7 separate regions of the Homo sapiens genome follow, and all the other regions are linked to region 4. The links are contacts of gene promoters, found by promoter capture Hi-C in blood cells and fetal thymus (Javierre and others, 2016). All regions are on one chromosome and are shown on one strand. The core of a region is centred on a gene start or on the middle of the fragment in contact, and the rest is flanking DNA. Distances in the headings are between cores, read along the strand shown.

What was found. The method cuts DNA at HindIII sites, captures the fragments that hold promoters and counts their contacts. A CHiCAGO score of 5 or more calls a contact.
Region 1: a contact is called between a fragment that was not itself captured here and the fragment with the promoter of ZC2HC1A in region 4, in 1 of 17 cell types (total B cells). The highest score is 6.6, in total B cells.
Region 2: a fragment that was not itself captured here is called in contact with the fragment with the promoter of ZC2HC1A in region 4 in 2 of 17 cell types (activated CD4 T cells and non-activated CD4 T cells); the score reaches 7.1 in activated CD4 T cells.
Region 3: a contact is called between a fragment that was not itself captured here and the fragment with the promoter of ZC2HC1A in region 4, in 2 of 17 cell types (total B cells and naive B cells). The highest score is 6.6, in total B cells.
Region 5: a contact is called between a fragment that was not itself captured here and the fragment with the promoter of ZC2HC1A in region 4, in 1 of 17 cell types (total B cells). The highest score is 5.5, in total B cells.
Region 6: a fragment that was not itself captured here is called in contact with the fragment with the promoter of ZC2HC1A in region 4 in 1 of 17 cell types (non-activated CD4 T cells); the score reaches 6.0 in non-activated CD4 T cells.
Region 7: a contact is called between a fragment that was not itself captured here and the fragment with the promoter of ZC2HC1A in region 4, in 1 of 17 cell types (non-activated CD4 T cells). The highest score is 6.7, in non-activated CD4 T cells.

The regions. Positions count from the first base shown.
Region 1 is chr8:78,916,767-78,919,466 of GRCh38, reverse strand. All of the region lies in intron 1 of MITA1 (metabolism induced tumor activator 1), which reads right to left. All of the region lies in intron 2 of LOC105375912 (a long non-coding RNA gene), which reads left to right. Among named protein-coding and RNA genes, the nearest start is that of LINC02605, 81 kb to the right of the region's middle. The HindIII fragment of the contact is 3,702 bases long and covers 1-2,700 here.
Region 2 is chr8:78,458,059-78,461,102 of GRCh38, reverse strand. The region is part of intron 2 of LOC105375911 (a long non-coding RNA gene); the gene reads left to right. Among named protein-coding and RNA genes, the nearest start is that of PKIA, 57 kb to the left of the region's middle. The HindIII fragment of the contact is 1,385 bases long and covers 947-2,331 here.
Region 3 is chr8:78,859,737-78,862,667 of GRCh38, reverse strand. The region is part of intron 1 of MITA1 (metabolism induced tumor activator 1); the gene reads right to left. Among named protein-coding and RNA genes, the nearest start is that of LINC02605, 24 kb to the right of the region's middle. The HindIII fragment of the contact is 2,388 bases long and covers 129-2,516 here.
Region 4 is chr8:78,664,830-78,667,529 of GRCh38, reverse strand. ZC2HC1A (zinc finger C2HC-type containing 1A) reads right to left here and starts at 1,441. Exons shown (of 9, transcript NM_016010.3): 1 at 1,366-1,441. The coding sequence starts at 1,381. LOC105375911 (a long non-coding RNA gene) reads left to right here and starts at 1,551. Exons shown (of 4, transcript XR_007060972.1): 1 at 1,551-2,525. RefSeq lists enhancers at 1,288-1,337, 1,302-1,809, 1,810-2,318 and a silencer at 1,408-1,627. The HindIII fragment of the contact is 1,596 bases long and covers 431-2,026 here.
Region 5 is chr8:78,895,863-78,898,819 of GRCh38, reverse strand. The region is part of intron 1 of MITA1 (metabolism induced tumor activator 1); the gene reads right to left. Among named protein-coding and RNA genes, the nearest start is that of LINC02605, 60 kb to the right of the region's middle. The HindIII fragment of the contact is 1,424 bases long and covers 566-1,989 here.
Region 6 is chr8:78,422,828-78,425,656 of GRCh38, reverse strand. The region is part of intron 3 of LOC105375911 (a long non-coding RNA gene); the gene reads left to right. Among named protein-coding and RNA genes, the nearest start is that of PKIA, 92 kb to the left of the region's middle. The HindIII fragment of the contact is 4,374 bases long and covers 1-2,829 here.
Region 7 is chr8:78,440,803-78,443,564 of GRCh38, reverse strand. All of the region lies in intron 2 of LOC105375911 (a long non-coding RNA gene), which reads left to right. Among named protein-coding and RNA genes, the nearest start is that of PKIA, 74 kb to the left of the region's middle. The HindIII fragment of the contact is 6,955 bases long and covers 1-2,762 here.

The sequences.
Region 1 (2,700 bases), core at 123-2,622, 250 kb before region 4:
TTCTCCTGAACACCATGGCTTACAAACAGGAAAAAAAGGAAGCATCTGAGTCAGGTCCCCCCCAAAAAAGGACAACAGTGTGTATGTCCTCATTGTGTTTGGTTATCTCTAAATGAAAATAAATGTGGTGCCCCCTGGATCGCCGCCAGAACAAGGTGATGATATAGAGATGGATTCATGCCACTTTCTGTTCTCTTGTAACTCTTTTAGGAAAGAAAAGTTCTTAGTGCACAATTATATCATTAAAAACAAGAGCTGTAAAGCCCTCATGACAATAACATGCCTGATTCTTCACAGATTGAGAATAATCATGCTTCAAAGCCCATTAAAATCTTGAAGAAACCACAATTTATGAGGTAGAAATTAAGCCACACAAAATAGACAAAGCTATACTGAGCAAAAAGGACAAAATTGGAGGACCCAGATTATCTGACTTCAAGTTATACTGCAGAGCTATGGTAATCAATACAGCATGATACTAGCATAAAAACAGACACATAGACCAATGGAACAGAACAGAGAACCCAGAAGCAAGTCCATACATGTACAGTGAACTCATCTTTGACAACAGTGCCAAAAACATCCATTGCAGAAAGAACAGTCTTTTTAATAAACGGTCCTGGGAAAACTGGATATCCATATGCAGAAGAATGAAACTAGACTGCCATCTCTCACCATATATAAAAATCAAATGAAAATGGATTGAAGACTTAAATCTAAGACCTAAAACTATGAAACTACTACAAGAAAACATGGGAGAAACTCTCCAGGACATTGAACTGAGCAAAAAATTCTTGAGTAATACCCCATAAACTCAGGCAACCAAAACAAAAATGGACAAATAGTATCACGACAAGTTAAAATGCTTATGCACAGCAAAGGATACAATCAACAAAGTAAAGAGGCAACCCGCGGAATGGCAGAAATTATTTGCAAACAATCCATCTGACGAGGGATTAATAACCAGAATACATAAGGAGCTAAAGCAATTCTATAGGGAAAAAATCTAATAAACCAATTTTAAAATGGGCAAAAGATCTGAATAGACATCTCTCAAAAGAAGACATACAAATGGCAAACAGGCATATGAAAAGGTGTTCCACATCATTGATCATCAAAAAAATGAAAATCAAACCTACAATGAGATATCATCTACCCCAGTTAATTATTGCCAAAAGACAGGCAATAACAAATGCTGGCGAGGATGTGGACAAAAGGGAGTCCTTATATGCTGTTGGTGGGAATGTAAATTAGTACAATCACTATGGAGAACAGTTTAGAGATTTCTCCAAAAACTAAAACTAGAGCTACCATATAATCCAGTAATCCAACTGCTAGGGATACACTCAAAAGAAAGAAATAAGTATATTTATGAGATATTTGCACTCCCACGTTTATTGCAGCACTATTAACAATAGCCAATATTTGGAAACATCCTGTGTCCATCAACAGATGAATAGATAAAGACAGTGTGGTTTTCCATTCCTGAGTTACTTCTGTGTTCTCACTGATGTGTAGGAGCTAAGCTATGGGGACGCAAAGGCATAAGAATAATACAGTACTTGGGAGGCTGAGGCAGGAGAACTGCTTGAACCCAGGAGGTGGAGGTTGCAGTGGGCCGAGATCGTGCCACTGCACTCCAGCTTGGGCAACAGAGAAAGACTCAATCTCAAAAAAAAAAAAAGATACAGTAGACTTTGGGGACTTGGGGTGACAAGTGGGAGTGGGGCGAGGGATAAAAGACAACAAATATGGTGCAGCGATACTGTTCGGGTGATGGGTGGCACCAGGAGCTCACAAATCTCCACTAAAGAACTTATGTAACCAAATACCACCTGTACCCCAATAACTTATGGAAAAATAAAAAAAAATTAAAGACAATGTTGTACATATACACAATGGAGTACTACTATTCAGCTATTAAAAATAATGAGATTCTGTCATTTGCAACAACATGAATGGAACTGGAGGTCATTATGCTAAGTGAAAAAATCCAGGCAAAGAAAGCCAAGCATCGCATGTTCTCGCTTATTCGTAGGAACTAAAAATTATAACAATTGAACTCATAGAGATAGAGAGTAGAATGATAGTCATCAGAGACTGGGAGGGGTAGTTGGAAGAGAATAGCGGGGTGGAGGTGGGAATGGTTAATGGGTACAAAAAATAGAAAGAATAAATAAGATCTAGTAATTGGTAGCACAACTATAGTCAATAATAATTTAATTATACATTTAAAAATAACTAAAAGATCGTATGTCTCCATCAAAATATCCCATATACTCCATAAATATACACCTGATATGTACCCAGAAAAAAACATTTTAAAATTACAAAATTTAAAAATTAAAAAAAAATAAGCCACAGATTTGGGACATCTTTCTGTTCAACGCAGTTCAAACAGTTAATCACATTATTGCACAGATACAATCCATAACATAAGATCTTAAATGCGTGGATACAAGCCAATGTCTCTCTAATGACCACATAATGAAAGTGTATATAATTAGGGGTATGAATCCTCACTAGAAAAGTATGTTTCTAGGTTTTGGGTACTAGAACTCCTCCAACTTCTCCAAATAGCTGAGACCACCTAGGATTTCAGGATACAGAGAAGAGAATTTGTTTGATTCATGGAATGTTAGGACATGTAACTGATAATAACAATTATAATATTACTGTTATAGATGACATATAGTATAT
Region 2 (3,044 bases), core at 390-2,889, 210 kb after region 4:
GAGATGCAAGATCATCATTTACAAAAGAATGTCAGCCGGGCACGGTGGCTCACGCCTGTAATCCCAGCACTTTGGGAAGCGAGATCACCTGAGGTCAGAAGTTCGAGACCAACCTGGCCAACATGGCGAAACCCCGTCTAAAAATACAAAAATTAGCTGGACATGGTGGCAGACGCCTGTAATCCTAGCTACTCAGGAGGCTGAGGCATGAGGATCGCTTGAACCTGGGAGGCAGAGGTTGCAGTGAGCCGAGATCATGCCACTCCATTCCAGCCTGGGGGATAGAATGAGACTCTGTCTCCAGAAAAACAAAAGAATGCCTTTTTATTTCATTTTACAAAATTCTCATCTTTTTTCAGAAATAAGATAAAACGAAAAAATAAAATGTACAAATAAGGAAACATGCTTGGATGTAATCTGAAAAATTGCAGAGCATACATTTTGCCCCTCCTACTACTTTCACACTTATGGAATGGGGTATACTTTTCACAGTAGCCACATGAAGGGACCTGGTGTGCCGCAGAAGCAATAAACCATGGGGTCAAGTTTGAGCAATGAGAGAAAAAGGTAAGAGAGAAGTTTTTATGCTTTCAATGGATTAGGGTTTCTGTAAACCTTGTTTGGAGCTGTATTTTGCAGACAAAACAACTGGCTGATCTTATTGTGCAGCTTTATATTGCTTCCTTTCCCTCCCTGCCTCAGTTCTCCATTACTTTAACTGTATCATCCTATAAAGCACTATCCTTCATGCTTTAGTAAATGAAAGAATCACCTGAAGAACTTTTAAAGTACCCATGTCAAGGCTTGTCCTTAGACATTCTGATTCAATATATCTGCAGTGGGGCCCAAGACCTTGCCATTTTTACAAGTTCCAAGGCAATGCAGATGGACCTGTTGGGCAGACCAGACTTGAGATACTACAGACTAGAGCATTAGCATGTAAGCTTATCTTTAGGCTCAGCTTCCATGTTGTCTGGCTAAGACAATATTATGAGCAAAAAGGTAAATTGGCATGGCAATTACTAAACATTTTACCTATGACTATCTGTGATGAGGTAGATGAGGGAGTTAATTTATTTGGAGCATGGTATCTATTGCATGCAACAGATGTAAGAAAGATGATAATTATGATTGTGAAGTAGGTTGGTTCTTTATTTTTTTATTGAGGAATAATTATGCCTATTTATGAGGTACAATGTGATGTTTTGATAAATGTACGTATAATATAATCAAGTCATGGTACTTATATCTATCACCTTAAACATTTATTATTTCTTTTTTGTGAGAACATTCAAAGTCTTCTAGCTATGGGGAAAATACAATGCATTATTGTTAACTATAGTCACCCTACTGTGCAGTAAGGTATGAGAACATATTCCTCATAACTGTAATACTGTATCTGTTGACTAGCCTCTCCCCATATCCTTCTCCTTCTGTTCTCCCCAGTCTTTGGTAATCATTATTCTGTTCTCAACTTCTATGGGATCAAATTTTTAGATTGCATACATGAATGAGAACATGGAGTATTTGTCTTTCTGTGTCTGGCTTATTTTACTTAACATGTCCTCCAGGCTCATCCATGCTATTGCAAAATTACAGGAATTCATCTTTTTATGGCTAAATATATTCTGTTGCATATGTGTGTATATATATGTGTGTGTGTGTATATATATATATATATATATATATATATATATATATATATATATGACATTTCCTCTACCCACTCATCCATTGATGGGCATTTACATTGATTTCATGTATTTACTATTGTGAATAGTGCTGCACTAAGCATGAAAGTACAGATCTCTCTTCAACATACTGATTTTATTTCCTTTGGGTATATACCCATAAGATGGGTTGCTGTTTTATATCTAGGTCTATTTTAAATTTTTTGAGGGTGCTCCATACTATTTTCTATAATGTTCATACTAATTTACATTCCCCAAAGTACACAAGAGTTCTTTTTTTCATACATCCTCTTCAGCATTTGCTATTTTTAAATTTTTCAATAGTAGTCATTCTAACTGGGGTGAGGTGATATCCCACTGTGGTTTTGATATGCATTTCCCTGATGGTTAGTGATGTTGAGTATTTCTTCATATACCTGTGAGCTATTTGTATGTCTTCTTTGGAGAAAATATGTTCAGGTCTTTTGTCCATTTCGTATACAGATAATGATGATGATGATTATTACTGCTTTGAGTTGTTTGGGTTCCTAAGAAATTCTGGATATTAACTCATTTTTAGATGTATAATTTGCAATTATTTTCCCACATATCTAGCTAGTCTCTTCATTCTGTTTATTGTTTTCTTTGCTGTGCAGAAGCTTTTAGTTTGGCGCAAACTTTTTGTTTATTTTTGCTTTTGTTGTTTGTCCTTTTGACATCTTGTCTAAAATAATCCTTGCCAGACTGACGTCATGTAATATTTTCACTATGTTTTATTCTAATAGTTTTATAGTTATTGGTCTTACAATTAAGTCTTTAATTCATTTTGCACTGGTTTTTGTACATGATGAGAAATGGGAGTGTAGTTTCATTCTTTGTATATGCATATCCAGTTTCCAAGCATCATCCAGCAAAGAAACTGTCCTTTCTCCATTGTATATTCTTGGCACCATTGTTGTAAGTCATTTGGCTGTATAAATGCATGGATTTATTTTAGGGTTCTCTCCTTTCTTTCGCTGGCTTATGTGTCTGTTTTTATGCCTGTATGATGTTGTGTTAGTTACTATACCTTTGTAGTATATTTTGAAATCAGTGCGATGCCTCCAGCTTTGTTTATTCTGTTAAAGATTGCTTTGGCTATTTAGGGTATTTTGTGGTTCCATATAAATTTTAGAATTTTCTTTTTTTCTATTTCTGTAAAAAATGACAATAGAACTCTAATAGAAATTTCATTGAATCTGCAGATATATTTGGGTAGTTATAGATGTTTTAACAATAATAATTCTACCAGTCCATGAACACAAGATGTCTTTCTATTTATTTGCATCTTCTTCAATTTCTTTCATTAATCCTTTATAGTTTTCATGGTGGAGA
Region 3 (2,931 bases), core at 73-2,572, 200 kb before region 4:
CTTGCTTCACTGAACACTTCACCACCATCAACTGTATATGATAAGTTTGCCAATAATATGTCCTGCATTTCATGACTTATTTGGATACCATTTCCTTTCAGTAAGGATCTGAGCACTGCAGTCAAGCTTAGTTGAAAAGAAAACTGAACCAATCCCCAAACACAATACAAATGTTTGAAAAGACAAACACATACTGGGAGAAAACATTTGCAATGCATTTAACTATAAATGGTTAATATCTAGAATAGAAAAATGAATTTCAACAATTTATAAAAGAAGGACAAACAACACAAGAGAAAATAAGCAAAGCATATTAACTGCCAGTTGTATACAGGGAACTGGCCAAAAATATAGGGTAACTTGATTTATTCAGCATTTAATATTTAAGTAGTAGTTCTCTTTATTTCTATTTTTTGACTTAAATGTAATTTATTGATATTAATATGTCAATATTAATATCTTTTGGTTAATCTCTTCTGGGTACTTTTTCCTTTTGTCATCTTTTTTGGAACCTTAAGTTATTGGGTTTAACTTGCATATAGTTGATAATTTTTAACATAATCTGTAAATCTTTTTTCAGTGGTGAGAATCATCCATTTATATTTATTGTGATTACTGATATATTTGGAATCTTTCTACCATTTTATTTTGTGTTTGCTGTTTGTCCTGCTTTTATAGCATATTTTATTTCCTTTTATACCTTTGTCTAAGGTTAATTTCTCTTCTTTTATTTCTTTTCTCTCTTCTTTCATAATTTATGCACCCTATTTCTATTTTTCTAATGGTTTTCCTGAAAATTTTAATATGAAAATGAAGTTAGTATTTTCTTTTCCTACTCTTTCAAACAACAAAAGAGACCTTACAACACTTTAACTCTGATCAACTCCAACTCATCTTTCATGATACTGTTGTGCAGCATTTTATATCTGACTTATTTAACACAAAATTAGACATTATTGTTTTATATGTTCAATATATGTTCTATATGTTTATTTATACTGGTTATATTTTATATTCTTTAGCATGTGAGGTTTTTTTTCTCCATTTGATATTGCATTCATAGTCTTCCTAGGATAATATTCTTTCCTTTTGAAGTACATCCTTTTCAAGATGCTTTAGTGAGTGTCTATTAGAGATAAATTCAGTTTTTACTTGCTCTAATGTTTTTCACCATCATTCTTGAAAAAATACAAAAATGCCAGATTATTTCTCTCAACACTTGGAAAGATTCCTCTACTGTCTTCTGGCTTCTATTGTTAAGAAATTTGCTGTCAATTTTATACATGTGTAGGATCATTTTTCTGTGGCTTTTTAGAGATCTCTCTACCTTTGGTGATCTGTTAGAAAACAAGGATGAATTTCGGTATGGATTTCATCTTTGTTATATCTACTTAAGACTTATTTAGGTTTTGTCTATGGATGGAACTAGGGGCCATTATCCTTAGCAAACTAACACAGGAACAGAAAATCAAATACTGCATGTTCTCACTTATAAGTGGGAACTAAATGATGAGAACACATGTACACATAGCAGACAGCAACACACACTGGGGCTTTTCAGAGAAATGAGGGTAGGAGAAGGGAGAGTATCAGGAAAAATAACTAATGGGTACTAGGCTTAACATCTGAGTCATGAAATAACCTGTACAACAAATCCCCATAACACAAGTTTACCTATGTAACAAACTTGTAGTTGTACCTCTGAACTTAAGAGTTAAAAAAGAGTCATTTATGCTTCTTTAATACAGAGATTCATGCCTTTGATTGATTAGGAAAAATCTTAGTCTTTATCTGTTTAAATAGATCCTCTCTTTCCTTGTCTCAATTATTTTTTTCTAAAAGTCCTATTAGATATATGTTCAATTATATTTTTCATTACAAGTTCTTTTTGGTTTCTTTATAAAATATTTTTATTGCATATCCTTATTTTTCATATTTTCTGTTGCAGTTGTTCTCATTCAGTGTGGCTAATTTTGTGTATGTGTTTTAATTTTGATTGTGAATTTATATCCAGTATAACCTTTTGGTGGAATGTCCACCAGGCCTGGATAAGGTTACATCCCTTTCCAGAAGATTTACACTTTCCTTCTAACATAACTCAGCATCTTATTTCATGATGTTTATTTTGTTCTTTCTTTCTGTTTGTTTACTTGTCTTTTGCTATGCATGCTATAATTTTGTTTGCTTTTGAAGGAACTTAAGTTCATTTCTCAGCTTGTGTTTCCCTAATCCACAGAAATAGTGTAAATTTGAACACCAAACCAATGTGGTTACACACTCCCAGAACCTTTTTATTGTTTGCCCACTGAAAGTAGTAACCAAAACAAATAAGTATTTTTGTATTCTACCTTTCTTCCTAAGAAGTTTTTCTTTGGTTGTTTTTGTTTTGCTTGGCTTTTTTCCATCTACTCTTTTATTAATATTTTAGCCCTTTTAATTTTCAACTTTCTTCAAGAGCTTTATTTTCAACCTCTCTCTCTTTGCCTAGGTCCAAGGCCTGGTCTTCTGGGAAAGCTTCCTGTTTTTCTGAAACTATTCTGCTGGGTAGTTATAGATTTCAGTTCTATTTCCCAATCAGTTTGCTAACTCTCTTTTTTTTAACTCACAAGGATCCCCTTACGTTATAGTCAACACATTAAAAAAAAAATGGTTTTACTTTACCCACATACAAATCTGCATTGTAGTGAGGCTTTTCCAGACATGTATTCTGCATTATTGCCAGAAATAGCAACCCTGCAATTTTAATTTTAAATTCATCTTTGATTCAAGAGTTCCTTAGAGGATAACTTTTAATTTCTAAGAAGTTGTGAGTATTATTGTTTGATTTTGAGTTTTATTCAAGCGTTATTCTAAAATATGACCTGTACATTTCCCAAATTGGGGAATTTATTGGGATTTCTTGTATGGTCTACTGATAGAGGAGTGCTGGGA
Region 4 (2,700 bases), core at 192-2,691:
TGCAAACTGTTCAAAACACTTTATAGATAATATGTAATAAAACCTTATCATATTATATATGATAATCTCATGAGAATTCCATAACCCATGCTTTAATCCCACCAAGATACAAAAGTATCTTGAAAGTAAAATATACTGTACTATCATTACAATTCCTTATTTCATGGAAACTTGAATTATCTTCCAAAAACACATAAGCAAAAAACAAGACCTTCATTAGGCCATAGCATACTGCAGCTGTCCACAAACGGAAAATTATCAGAATCATTTATCAGAGCAAAAGCACGAAATAAACTTCTACTCATGTTATTACATCTGCTTTTTGGTGAATAGGTGACTGAAAAAGTTACCGGCTACCACTTTGCACTTCATCACACAATGTAGAATATTTTACTCCCTGGCATGCAACAATACACAAGACTCAAAAGCTTCTGCTCATTCTTAATTCCAACTGAATCCGTGTAAACTAGGAGACGGGGGAAAGGAGCTAAATCAAGACAATAGGATCTTTCAATTCTGAAGGTTTGTTCTTCATCATAACAAATTAAAAAATCTTGAAACTGTTGTTGCCAATGCTAGTTATTGTGGTTTTTGTCCTTCCTTTGTTTTTAGGTGAATGCTTTCATTACACAGGATAAAATGGGTAAACAGAATAGAGAAAAAGTGAAAGAACTGGGAACAAAGCAAAATCTGGAGTCATGGTTACAGTACAAAGATAAACCCAAAGATAAGGAACCAATACAGGCTCTTCCTCACACAGCGGCCGTGAATAAGTCATCAAATCCTCCGGGTAATCTATTGTACCGGCTCTAAAGCTGGCCAGTGACACTTCCTTAGGAGATGCTCTGACATCCCTCCGACAGAAGATGCTGTCGAAATGTAAAAAGCCGGTTACCTAGGGAAATCGGCCAAGGAATGTCAGGAGCTCGAGGCTGGAGACACACCCCGGGGCTGCAGCACAAAGTGGCCTGTTGGTGTTAAGGCCGTGGACAATAATGGAGAGAGTCCAGTACAAGGAAAACAAAATCTGGCCAGAGACTGGGATCACTAAAAGGGCACTCAGGAGTCAAGCAAGATCAGAAAATGGTAGGAAGAGACGTGCAGGCGTCTTGCCAGGGGCAGGATCTGGCTCCGGGCGGGAAAGCCCAGTTGAAGACCGTCTGAGGCGGGGCAGCCTGGTAGCGTTAGCTCCACCGCATCGGGGACTGTCCGGTTCCCTTCGGCCCCAGCCTCCGGAGGCGCGGCGGGACGCGGCGAGGTCCGCCGCACCGAACCAGCCCTCGCCTTCCTGCTACTGGTGTCCAGGGTCCCCAGCTGTTTCGGGCCCGCTCTAGCCGTCCTGCCCTCATCCCTTCATCGCCTCACCTTCCAGTCCCTCCATCGCGCCACCTCCTCGAGCTCAGCGAGACTCCTTCAGCAGCGCCCGCCACCGCCCAGCTCTGGCTGTAGCAACCCAGCCGCACCTCCCACCCGCTAACATTCCGAGCTCCCATTGGTTCCGCAACTGCGGGGGCGGGGATCCGTGGGGGCGGGGCCGCGGCGGAGGCGAGGTTCCTGCGGTCTCCTCCTGGCTGCCACCCCTGTCCGTCTCTCCGGGTTACTCTCCAGGGAGCCGGGAGCCGCTTCAGGTTGCAATCTGCGATGCAACGGCGCCTTTGTTTGACTCCAGCCTTGTTTTGCCTCATACCTTATCCTCCTATTTAGAGTACCTCAGCACCTCATGGGCTCCGCTTCACCAGTTCCTCAATCAGTCAATGCCTCTGACTTCTAGCCGCCATCCCTCCCAGTGGATACTTTAAGCAGGCAAGCAAACCAAACAAACGCCCAGCACGCTTGCATGCAGCAATCTCCGTTTTCCGGTCTTTGGTCGCATGACTTGACCTCAGCGTATCCCCTACACTTGATCTTCACACACAGCTTCATAGGTTAAGACACTTTTTTTCCAGAGAAATCATACTTTCTATCTGCGATTGTGGAACTGCGATTGCTCTAAGCCCTTGAAAACAGTTTCCTCACCATGAAAGCTTGGGCCAAAAATTAGAAGTGAAACCCAGCCCTCCCTCTGTCTTCTACTCTTGGCCTACCTTGGCCCTATACTTTATCATCCATAAACCAAAACAGTCGCCTGGCCTGACAATGTTTGATCGGGGAAGTTTGAGTTGGGGAATTAACCTACAACCTGACAGAATGAGGCCCGCCCGTCTCTAACAGAGTTCAAAACCTCCTGAAGATGAAAGTAACTTCAAAACTAACTCAGACCATTTTAACGGTTTTGCTTACAATTACCAGAACTACATTTCTTTGAAAATTTGATTTAGCAATCGTAAACAAGCTGTACTGTTTGCTGACTATAGCGTATCTACTGGCAAGTTACCAGTATTAATGTGTTGTCCATAACAAACCTCGGATTAATGTTATTGTTAATCTGTTTAATTGAAGAGTTTAACTTCATATCTAACTTCATCTACTATGAAATCAGTTACCTTCAGGAAGCAGGATTCCTCCTACTCTCCACTCACATGAAGGTATGTTTAAACAAGCAAACACTTGAGGGGGCATCATCTCTTACTGAGAAGGTGCTCCAAGTGCATTTGAATGTGGTAGAGTCCATCTGTTGTGTGGAGCCATGTAAAGACCACTTCAACCATGCCTCAATGACTCCCTCCGCCCTTCCCTGGTTCCCCTGGCTCTTCTGCTTCT
Region 5 (2,957 bases), core at 28-2,527, 230 kb before region 4:
TTATTAGTGCCCTTACAGGAAGAGGCCAGAGAGCTCTCTTGTCCTCTTTCTGCCATGTGAGGACACAACAAAAGTCAGCAGTCTGTAACATGGATGACAGCCCTCAACAGAATATGTCCATGCTGATGCCCTGATGACACACTTCCAGCCTCAAGAACTATGAAAAATAAATCTCTGTTATTTATAAATGACCCAGTTTATGGTACATTGTGAGAGTAGGCTAAACCGAATAAGACATCTCACTTGAACTGTTAAAATTACTCCCTAACTGGTTTCTGTAACAAGACCCTTATAGATATCATCCCTAGATTTCTTTTTTAAACAGAAAAAAATCAAGCATGTAAATTCCCAGGTTTAAAGCCTCTCTTGGTTGCCTACTGCCCAGAAAATAAAATCCAACCTCCCCAGTTGACATTCAAGACTTTTCAGACTCTGGTTCCAGCGTACACCATCTCCTGCCACTTCCCTCAAGGCTTCTGCCACACCAAATTTCTAAAATTTCTAAGTGTTCATCAAACATGCCAGGTTTCTATAACCTCCAAGTCTTTGCATAAGCTTGAAAGCTTTCTTTTTCCACTTTTGTCCATTTTCATAATCCTAGGACAGTCTTAGTCATCCTTTAAGATCCAACTCAAATGCTAACATTGCTACAAGCCTTTCCTGACACCCCAAGAGAATTTCTCATTCTCTTCTCAAAGATTCCACAGTGCTTTGTTTCTATCTCTTAACGACATTTATCATGTTACACTGTTTTTATCGTTTACCTGTATGTCTCCTCCATTAAACTACAACAAACTCTTATCACAGTAACTATCTATCTGTCTCCCCCTCCTAAAAAGGCTGACCAGTCTAAGTACCAAAAAAATGATTACTAAACTCATCATCCAATCAATCCACTCGCTCATCAGATATTTTAGCACCTACTCTCTATTTGATATTGTATTATAGTTTTAGCTTAAAAAATAAAATGTTCCTCTATATAAACTAAATTATAAGCTGGCCAAATAAAAAGATTTCCTTCATTTTTTTTCAATTACAGGAAGTAGGTTAATTAAAGAGAACAAGATTACTGGGAGGTTGGTTAGGAGTGTGCAGAGGAGGTGATAATGAGAATTTTTTTTTCCATGGAAGAAGTGAGATTACCACCATTAGGGACATTTTTTATTTCACTGAAGAAGTGTGACTTCCAGAAAATAAAAGGCAAGTGCTGTGAACTCAAGACAATGAATTTATGTCTAGCCTGAGATGCCAACTATTTCCAGGCATGCTTCAAAATCATTTGCTGGGGTCAATCTTGCCTTTCTCCTAACCACTTCCTATATTTTCCCTCCTGTTTCCCCCAACTATCCATGCTGAACATTTTCTGTAGGAAAGCAAGATTAGGCAAGGAAAAGAGGAGATGTGAAGTTTGGTGGTAGGGAAATGCTTTATGAATGACAATGAAGGAATAATTTGTTCTTGCATGTTTTTCATCAATCAATGAATGAGATTTTTATCCCCAGTGTGCCTCAATGCAAGGCATTGGCTTAGTTTTGCTGTCAAACAGTGGTGCCACACACAAGGACACAGAGAAGAGCTGTAGAGGCAACCAGGTACTTTCCACCTTCCCTATACTTAGCAATAGATAGCAAAGGAGTCCTTGTGTTCATTCTGCATTGCCCTTTTAGGAAAAAGATGAGACAAATTCAAGGTAAAGTAATTTAACAGAAAGACTTGTCTACACAAATTCCTAATAAATGAAATGGACAAATGTAGTCGTGGAATGGGGCCTGGATTAAATGCCAAGCACTGCTAACCAACTGTGAGATCTCAGCTGAGGCACTTGTTTTCGCTAGGTCTCAGTTTTCTTCTCTGAAAACAAGGAAAGTGGATCACATGGACATCCCTTTCTGCTTTAATCAGAGGTAAGGTCTGAATAAAGTGCAGAATTCTACATTTCTTCAAACATAGCACGTCAGGAAAAAATGTGAACACAATGAAGTCCAAGCTTAGACAAATGATAATTAAACACATAATTGACAAATAAAAAGGCAGGTAGAATTCTCATTCTTCCATTCTAAATTACAGTTCAAGCTGGTGATTATTTAAGCAAAAATGTAACTTTTAGGAGGAAATTGAATTATTTCCCACTGTAAAGAATTTTTAAGATGGCAAACCTAAAATTAATCATGCCAAGGTTCCTGCTCGTGCTTAAATATATGCATGACTCCATGTCATTTTGTAGTGCCTTCCTGTCCTTGACATAATTTTGTTTTATATACTTAACACAATAAACTCTTTCATAGAAAGGAGAAAATGCCTGCCCTTCTGGAGAATCAAATTATCTAAACTGGGTCCATTGTTATTTCCACAAACAAGTGGAGGAATTATTGCTATATTCCTTAACGATTACAGACAGAGAATACAATGTTTCAGGCCCTTCACCTTTATTCCATCCCTTTCTCAGCAATTACAGACCGAGAATACAATGTTTCAAGCATTTCACCTTTAATCCATCCCTTTCTCACCCCTTGGGAAAGCCCAGCATTAGAAAGAGTCCCTAGTGGTTACACTTTTCACTTTTGCCCCCAAGACCATCTTCGACCTTGATTGTTGGGTTGTTGAGTTAGTCCTCAAGGTCTCTATCTGCAAAGTAGCACTTGATAACCAGCTGAATCTATAGCCCACTAAATTTGCTTGTTCTTATTTTTAGACATTAGTTCCCTAAATGAAATAAATGAGAGTAATATTAGTTACATCAATGACACCACTAAAGCATTCATTGAGCTTCAATAATAAGTGTAACAATAACAATAAAATTTTATGGCTCCTTTTCTCAGAGGAAATTAGAACACTTTACCAACATTATTGTCTCATTAAACCTCATGTCTTTGAAAAATGGTGTAGCATTGTGTGGATGGAAGGGTATAAGCCAGAGAGTGAGACAGAACTGTTTTCCATTTACCTACCTGGAAATC
Region 6 (2,829 bases), core at 224-2,723, 240 kb after region 4:
CACAAAAAAGACTTGTAGTAGATACACAAAATTTAAGGGAAAAGGAATAAAAGAATACTTTTATAAAAATTATCAAATCACAAAAGAAGATAGCAAGAGAAAAAGAAACTACAAAATAGTTGGAAAATAATGAATAAATGGCAGTACATCCTTATCCATCAATAATTACTTAAAATGTAAATGGATTATTCAAATGACATAGAGTGGTTGAACGGATTAAAAAAATGAGATCCAACTATATGCCACCTACAAGAGACTCACTTTAGGTTTAAAGGCACACATAGGTTGAATGTGAAGGCACTAGAAAAGATATTCAATTAAATGGTAATCAAAAGAGAATGGGCAGGCTGGATTTATATCATACGAAATAGAGTTTAAGTCAAAAACTATCACAAGAGACAAGGTCATTAATAATGATAAAGGGATCAATTCATCAAAAGGCTATAACAGTTGTAAATATATATGTACCCAATATCAGAGCACCTAAATGCATAAAGCAAATATTGCCAGAACTGAAGGTTGAAAGAGGTAGCAATACAATAACCATAGGGAACTTTAATACCCCACTTTCGACAATATATCGATCATCCAGGGAAAAATAATCAATCAGAAAATATCAGACTTGAATGACAGTAGAGACCAAATGGACCTAATAGACATATATAGAACATATATATAGAATATATATATATTTGAAGCTGTCACAGAACATTCTCTAGAATACATGATATGTTAAGCCACAAAAAAACTCTTAATAAATTCAAGAAAATTAAAATCATATCAAGTATCTTTTCTGATCATGATGGTATGGATCTAGAAATTGATAAAGGTGGAAAATTAGAAAATTCACAAATATGTGGAAATTAAACAACACATTCTCAAACAGCCAATGAGTCAGAGAAGAAATCAAAAGGGAAATAAAACATATATTGAGACAAACTGCCAAAACTTATGAAATGCAGCAAAAGTAGTTCTAAGAGGAAAACTTATAGTGGTAGTTGTTTACATTAATTTGTTTTTGTTTTTGTTTTTAGAGACAGGATCTCACTTTGTTGCCCAGGCTGGAGTGCAGTGGTGCAATGATAGCTAACTATAACCTTGAATCCTTGGGCTCAGATGATCTTCCCAGCTTAGTCTCCCAAGTAGGTAGGACTACAGGCATGGAACACCATACCTACTATTTTATTTTATTTTTTGTAGAAATTGGGTTGCCCAGGCTAGTCTCGCACTCCTGGCCTCAAAGAATCTTTCTGTCTTGGCCTCTCAAAGTGCTGGATTTACAGGTGTGAGCCACTATGCCCAACCTCAAATCTTTCTTTACAGCTAACTTGACACCTCAGAAAAATAAAATAAGCAGAACAAACTAAGCACAAAGATAGACGAAGAAAGGAAATAATAAAGATTAGAACAGAAATAAATAAGGACTAGATTAGAACAGAAATAAATAAGGACTAGAAAAGATCAATAATACTAAGAGTTGGCTTTGTGAAAAGGTAAAGTTGACAAGACTGAATTATAAAGAAAGAGAAGTATGACCAGACTAATAACCAATAAGGAGATTTAATTAGGAGTCAAAAACCACCCAACAAAAAAATGCTCAGGACCTGAAGAATTCACAGGAGAATTCTTCCAAACAATTAAAGGAGAATTAATGCTGATGCTTGCCAAACTTTTTCAAAAAAATTGAAGAGCAGAGAATACTTTCAAACTCAATTTTATGAGGCCACCATTACCCTAATACCAAAACCAGACAAGAATACTGTGAGAAACAAAACTGACAGTCCGATATCTTTGATAAACATAGATCCAAAAGTCTGCAAGAAAATACCAGGAAACCAAATTCAACAGCAGATTTAAAAGATCAGCCATCATGGTCAAGTGAGACTGATGCCTGAAATGCAAGGATAGTTTAACATATGCAAGTCAATAAATGTGATATACCACATTAACAGAAAAATAAAAATTATATGATCATCTCAATAGATGCATAAGAAAATTTGAAAAATTCAACATGATTTCATTATAAAAATACTTAATAATGTATAGAACATAAATATAACCACATGCCTCAACATAATAAAGACCATATATGACAAGCTCACAGATCACATCATACTCAATGGTAAAAAGTTGAAACTTTTTTTCTAAGATCAGGAAGAAGAGAAGACGACAAGGGTGCTCATTCTTAACTTTTCTATTCAATATAGTATTGTAGGTTCCAGTCAGAAAATTAGTCAAGAAAAATAAATAAAATACATTCAAACTGAAAGGTAAAATTGTTTCTGTTTGCAGATATCATAAGGAGGAAAGCCTAAAACCCTACCAACAAACTGTTTGAACTAATTAATCAATGCAGTGAAGTTCCAGAGTACAAAAGCAGCATTCAAAAATCGGTAGAGTTTCAACACACTAACAACAAACTATACAAAGAAGAAGTTAAGAAAATAATACCATTTACGATAACATCAGAAGGAATAATATACTTAGGAATAAATTTAAGGAAGAAGGGGAAAGATCTGTACACTAAAAACCATAAAACATTGATGAAAGGAATTGGAAAAACACTAACATAAAGGTATTCCACGTTCATTGATTGGAAGAAATAATGTTATTAACATGTCCATACTACCTGAAGTGATTTATGGATTCAGTGTAATCCCTATCAAAATTATAATGTTATTTTTCATAGAAATACAATAAAGACTCTAAAATTCATATGGAAACATAAAAGACTCCAAATAGCCAAAGCTGTCTTGAGCAAAAGAACAAAGCTGGTTGTAGTACACTAACTGATATCAAAAGATACTATAAACCTATAGTAGTTAAAAC
Region 7 (2,762 bases), core at 156-2,655, 220 kb after region 4:
AACCAGTTATATAATGAAACATTTAAGTTAAAAGCAAAGGATTGGAAGACATATGTACCAAGCTGGAGTGCCTGTAATAACATCAGGCAAAGTATAATAGATACCACAGCACAAAGAATAGAGCAGGAATAAAGAGTATTATTTCAACATGGCAAATAGGTCAATTAATCAAAAAGAAATAATACTTCCAAATATTTATGCTCCTGAAAAGAGAAATTTAAGATACCTGAGGAAAAATGAGAAATGAGACCACCTACAATTACAGAAGAATTCAGCTTCCCTGTTTTATTATTAGTGAAACAGATAGACAGAAAATCATTCAGATCATAGAGAATTTAACCAACTCTATCAAAAATCTTATGTACTTAATCTCACCTAGTGTAGTTTTTATCTCAAACATTGTGTTTGAAACTTTTGAAGGGTAATTTTGATATTTATCTTCCATCTCTCTACTTAATATGCTCATTTCCACTCTGTTTTATTGTACATATGGTTTATAGTTACAGTGATTACTTTAATGATCTTGTCTACAGTGTTTTATCTGTAAAATATATAGTCTCAATTGATTAATTGATTTTACCTCTCATTATGGGTTGTATTTTTCAGCTTGATTGTTTGCCTGGTACATTTTGATGGGTTATTAGATATTATGAATTTACCTTTTCTGTGCTGCATATTTTTTATTTCTGAAAGTATTCTTGGGATTTGTTCAGTGACATAGGTAAGTCACTTTGAAACAGTTGGGTCTTTTGGATATTGCTTTGTTTTTGGAAGAAGAGTAGTCAAGGGCTAATTTTATATGATCACTGAGGAAACTGAGGTTTGAAATGTTCCCAACACATAGAAATAATTAATACTTCAGGTGATTAATACACTAAATACCTTGACTTGATCATTATTCATTCTATGCATGTAACAAAATATCCCATGTACCCAATAAATATGTACAAATATTATATACCAATAAAATATAATGGGTTTTATGTGTTAAAAACTTTATACAAATTATTATTTTTATATATAGAAAGATATCTTTTTTTTCTTTATGTTGATGCCAAAATTGATCCAGAGTGATATATATAGTCTTATTTTTTTTCATTTTAACTTCAAGAATTAATGCAACTAAACCTCAAACATGTGAAGAGTCAGATGAAAATCATTGACCTCTGTGTGGGACAAAACAGCTGTGGGACATCATGAGAGTAGAATTTTGCTGTGTAAAGGAAGAAATGTTTTAATAGTTGGAACTGACCAAAAACGGGATGAGTTACTCACTATAGAAAATGTTCGATGAAAGCATATGAAGATCGATCATACTAATAAAGATTCCTTGATTTTGAGGAAATCGTGTGTCCCACAGATTCTTACCAGCTCAATTACTCCTAGATGTCAAAGGAAGGTTAGAGTTTCCTTAACCCTAACTAAAGATTTACTGATCATTTTAAAGTGCCACATGCTTCAAATTTCATCTAGAAAAGTAGCACAAAAATCCATAGGCTCAAAGGTGGCAGCGTATGTCTGGCTTAAGTATTTAAAGTTAAAATGCTGAAGATTTGCAATTCTATTTCCTTTATAGACCATTGATAAAATGATTTTCCTATTTTTACAAATGTTCAAAAATAGATTTATCAAAAACCATCACAAAATTCTTTTAATACGTATGAAATCTTTTTCAATTCAAATGCACTGTGTTTTAGGAGCTTACAATACAAATTTCTTAGTTAATTCATCAGAATACTTGTTGAGCACCTTATCATTTGCAAGTACAATGATAAGCACATGGACTGTGTCTTCAAGATGCTCACTGGGAAGTTTTACATCTAAATGAGTAATCATCATGCTGTTTGGTGATTTAAGAAGAGAGGAGTTACTGTCTACGAAGGACCTCCCAGAGGATATGGTAATTTACATGGTCGTTGAAGAATGAGAAATCACCCTGAAGAACTAATATGGATAAGACCATTTCAGCTGGGAAGAACAACATGTTCAAAATAACTAATTTGCATGTTTTGAGAACTGTATGCAATATGATAATGTTGCAGTAAAAATGAGAAAGGGAAACAGTGGAGATGAGGCTGATAGGGCTAGATTATAAAGAGTTTTCTGTGCCATTTTAGTAAAATTAAACTTTATTTTCTAACACAATGGTAAGCCAATGAATTATTTAATCTTACTTTATTACCAAGGTTGTAACAATCAAAACACAAGAAGGTTGGGAAGTCAGGTAACAATAAAGTAGTTCTGAGAAAAAGCACAGATACTGCTCAGAACAAGGAAAGAACAGTAACTTAATAAAAGGAGGAAGGTGGGTTCCATGTTTTGAGGTCAGAGAATATAATTTGCCTATTATGACTAAAATTTTGACTACCCTGGCTAGCATCAAAATAGCACATAAAGCATTGCCTTAATTACCCTCAGGTTGAACTACAGACAATTTAGTTAAGGAAAGGGGGAATATGGCATGCTTTTGATTTTAGGAATTTATAGTCTAGAGGGTCAGCTTACTATTTTTTTCAATTTATATTTTCTGATAGATTACCACCAAAATCATAGAATTTTAAAATCAGTTTAAACTTCATGGATATTATACAAAAATCTGGAAAAGACAGGCAATAGGCAATTAGAATGGGCTATATTCTGGGGGTATTTTATATGTCTTTTTATGTGTTTTACTATGCATCACATGAACTGTTACTCCAACAAAAAACAAGATTTGAAATTAATGATAATTATGATAGTATAAATAAAACAGAATATTTTAT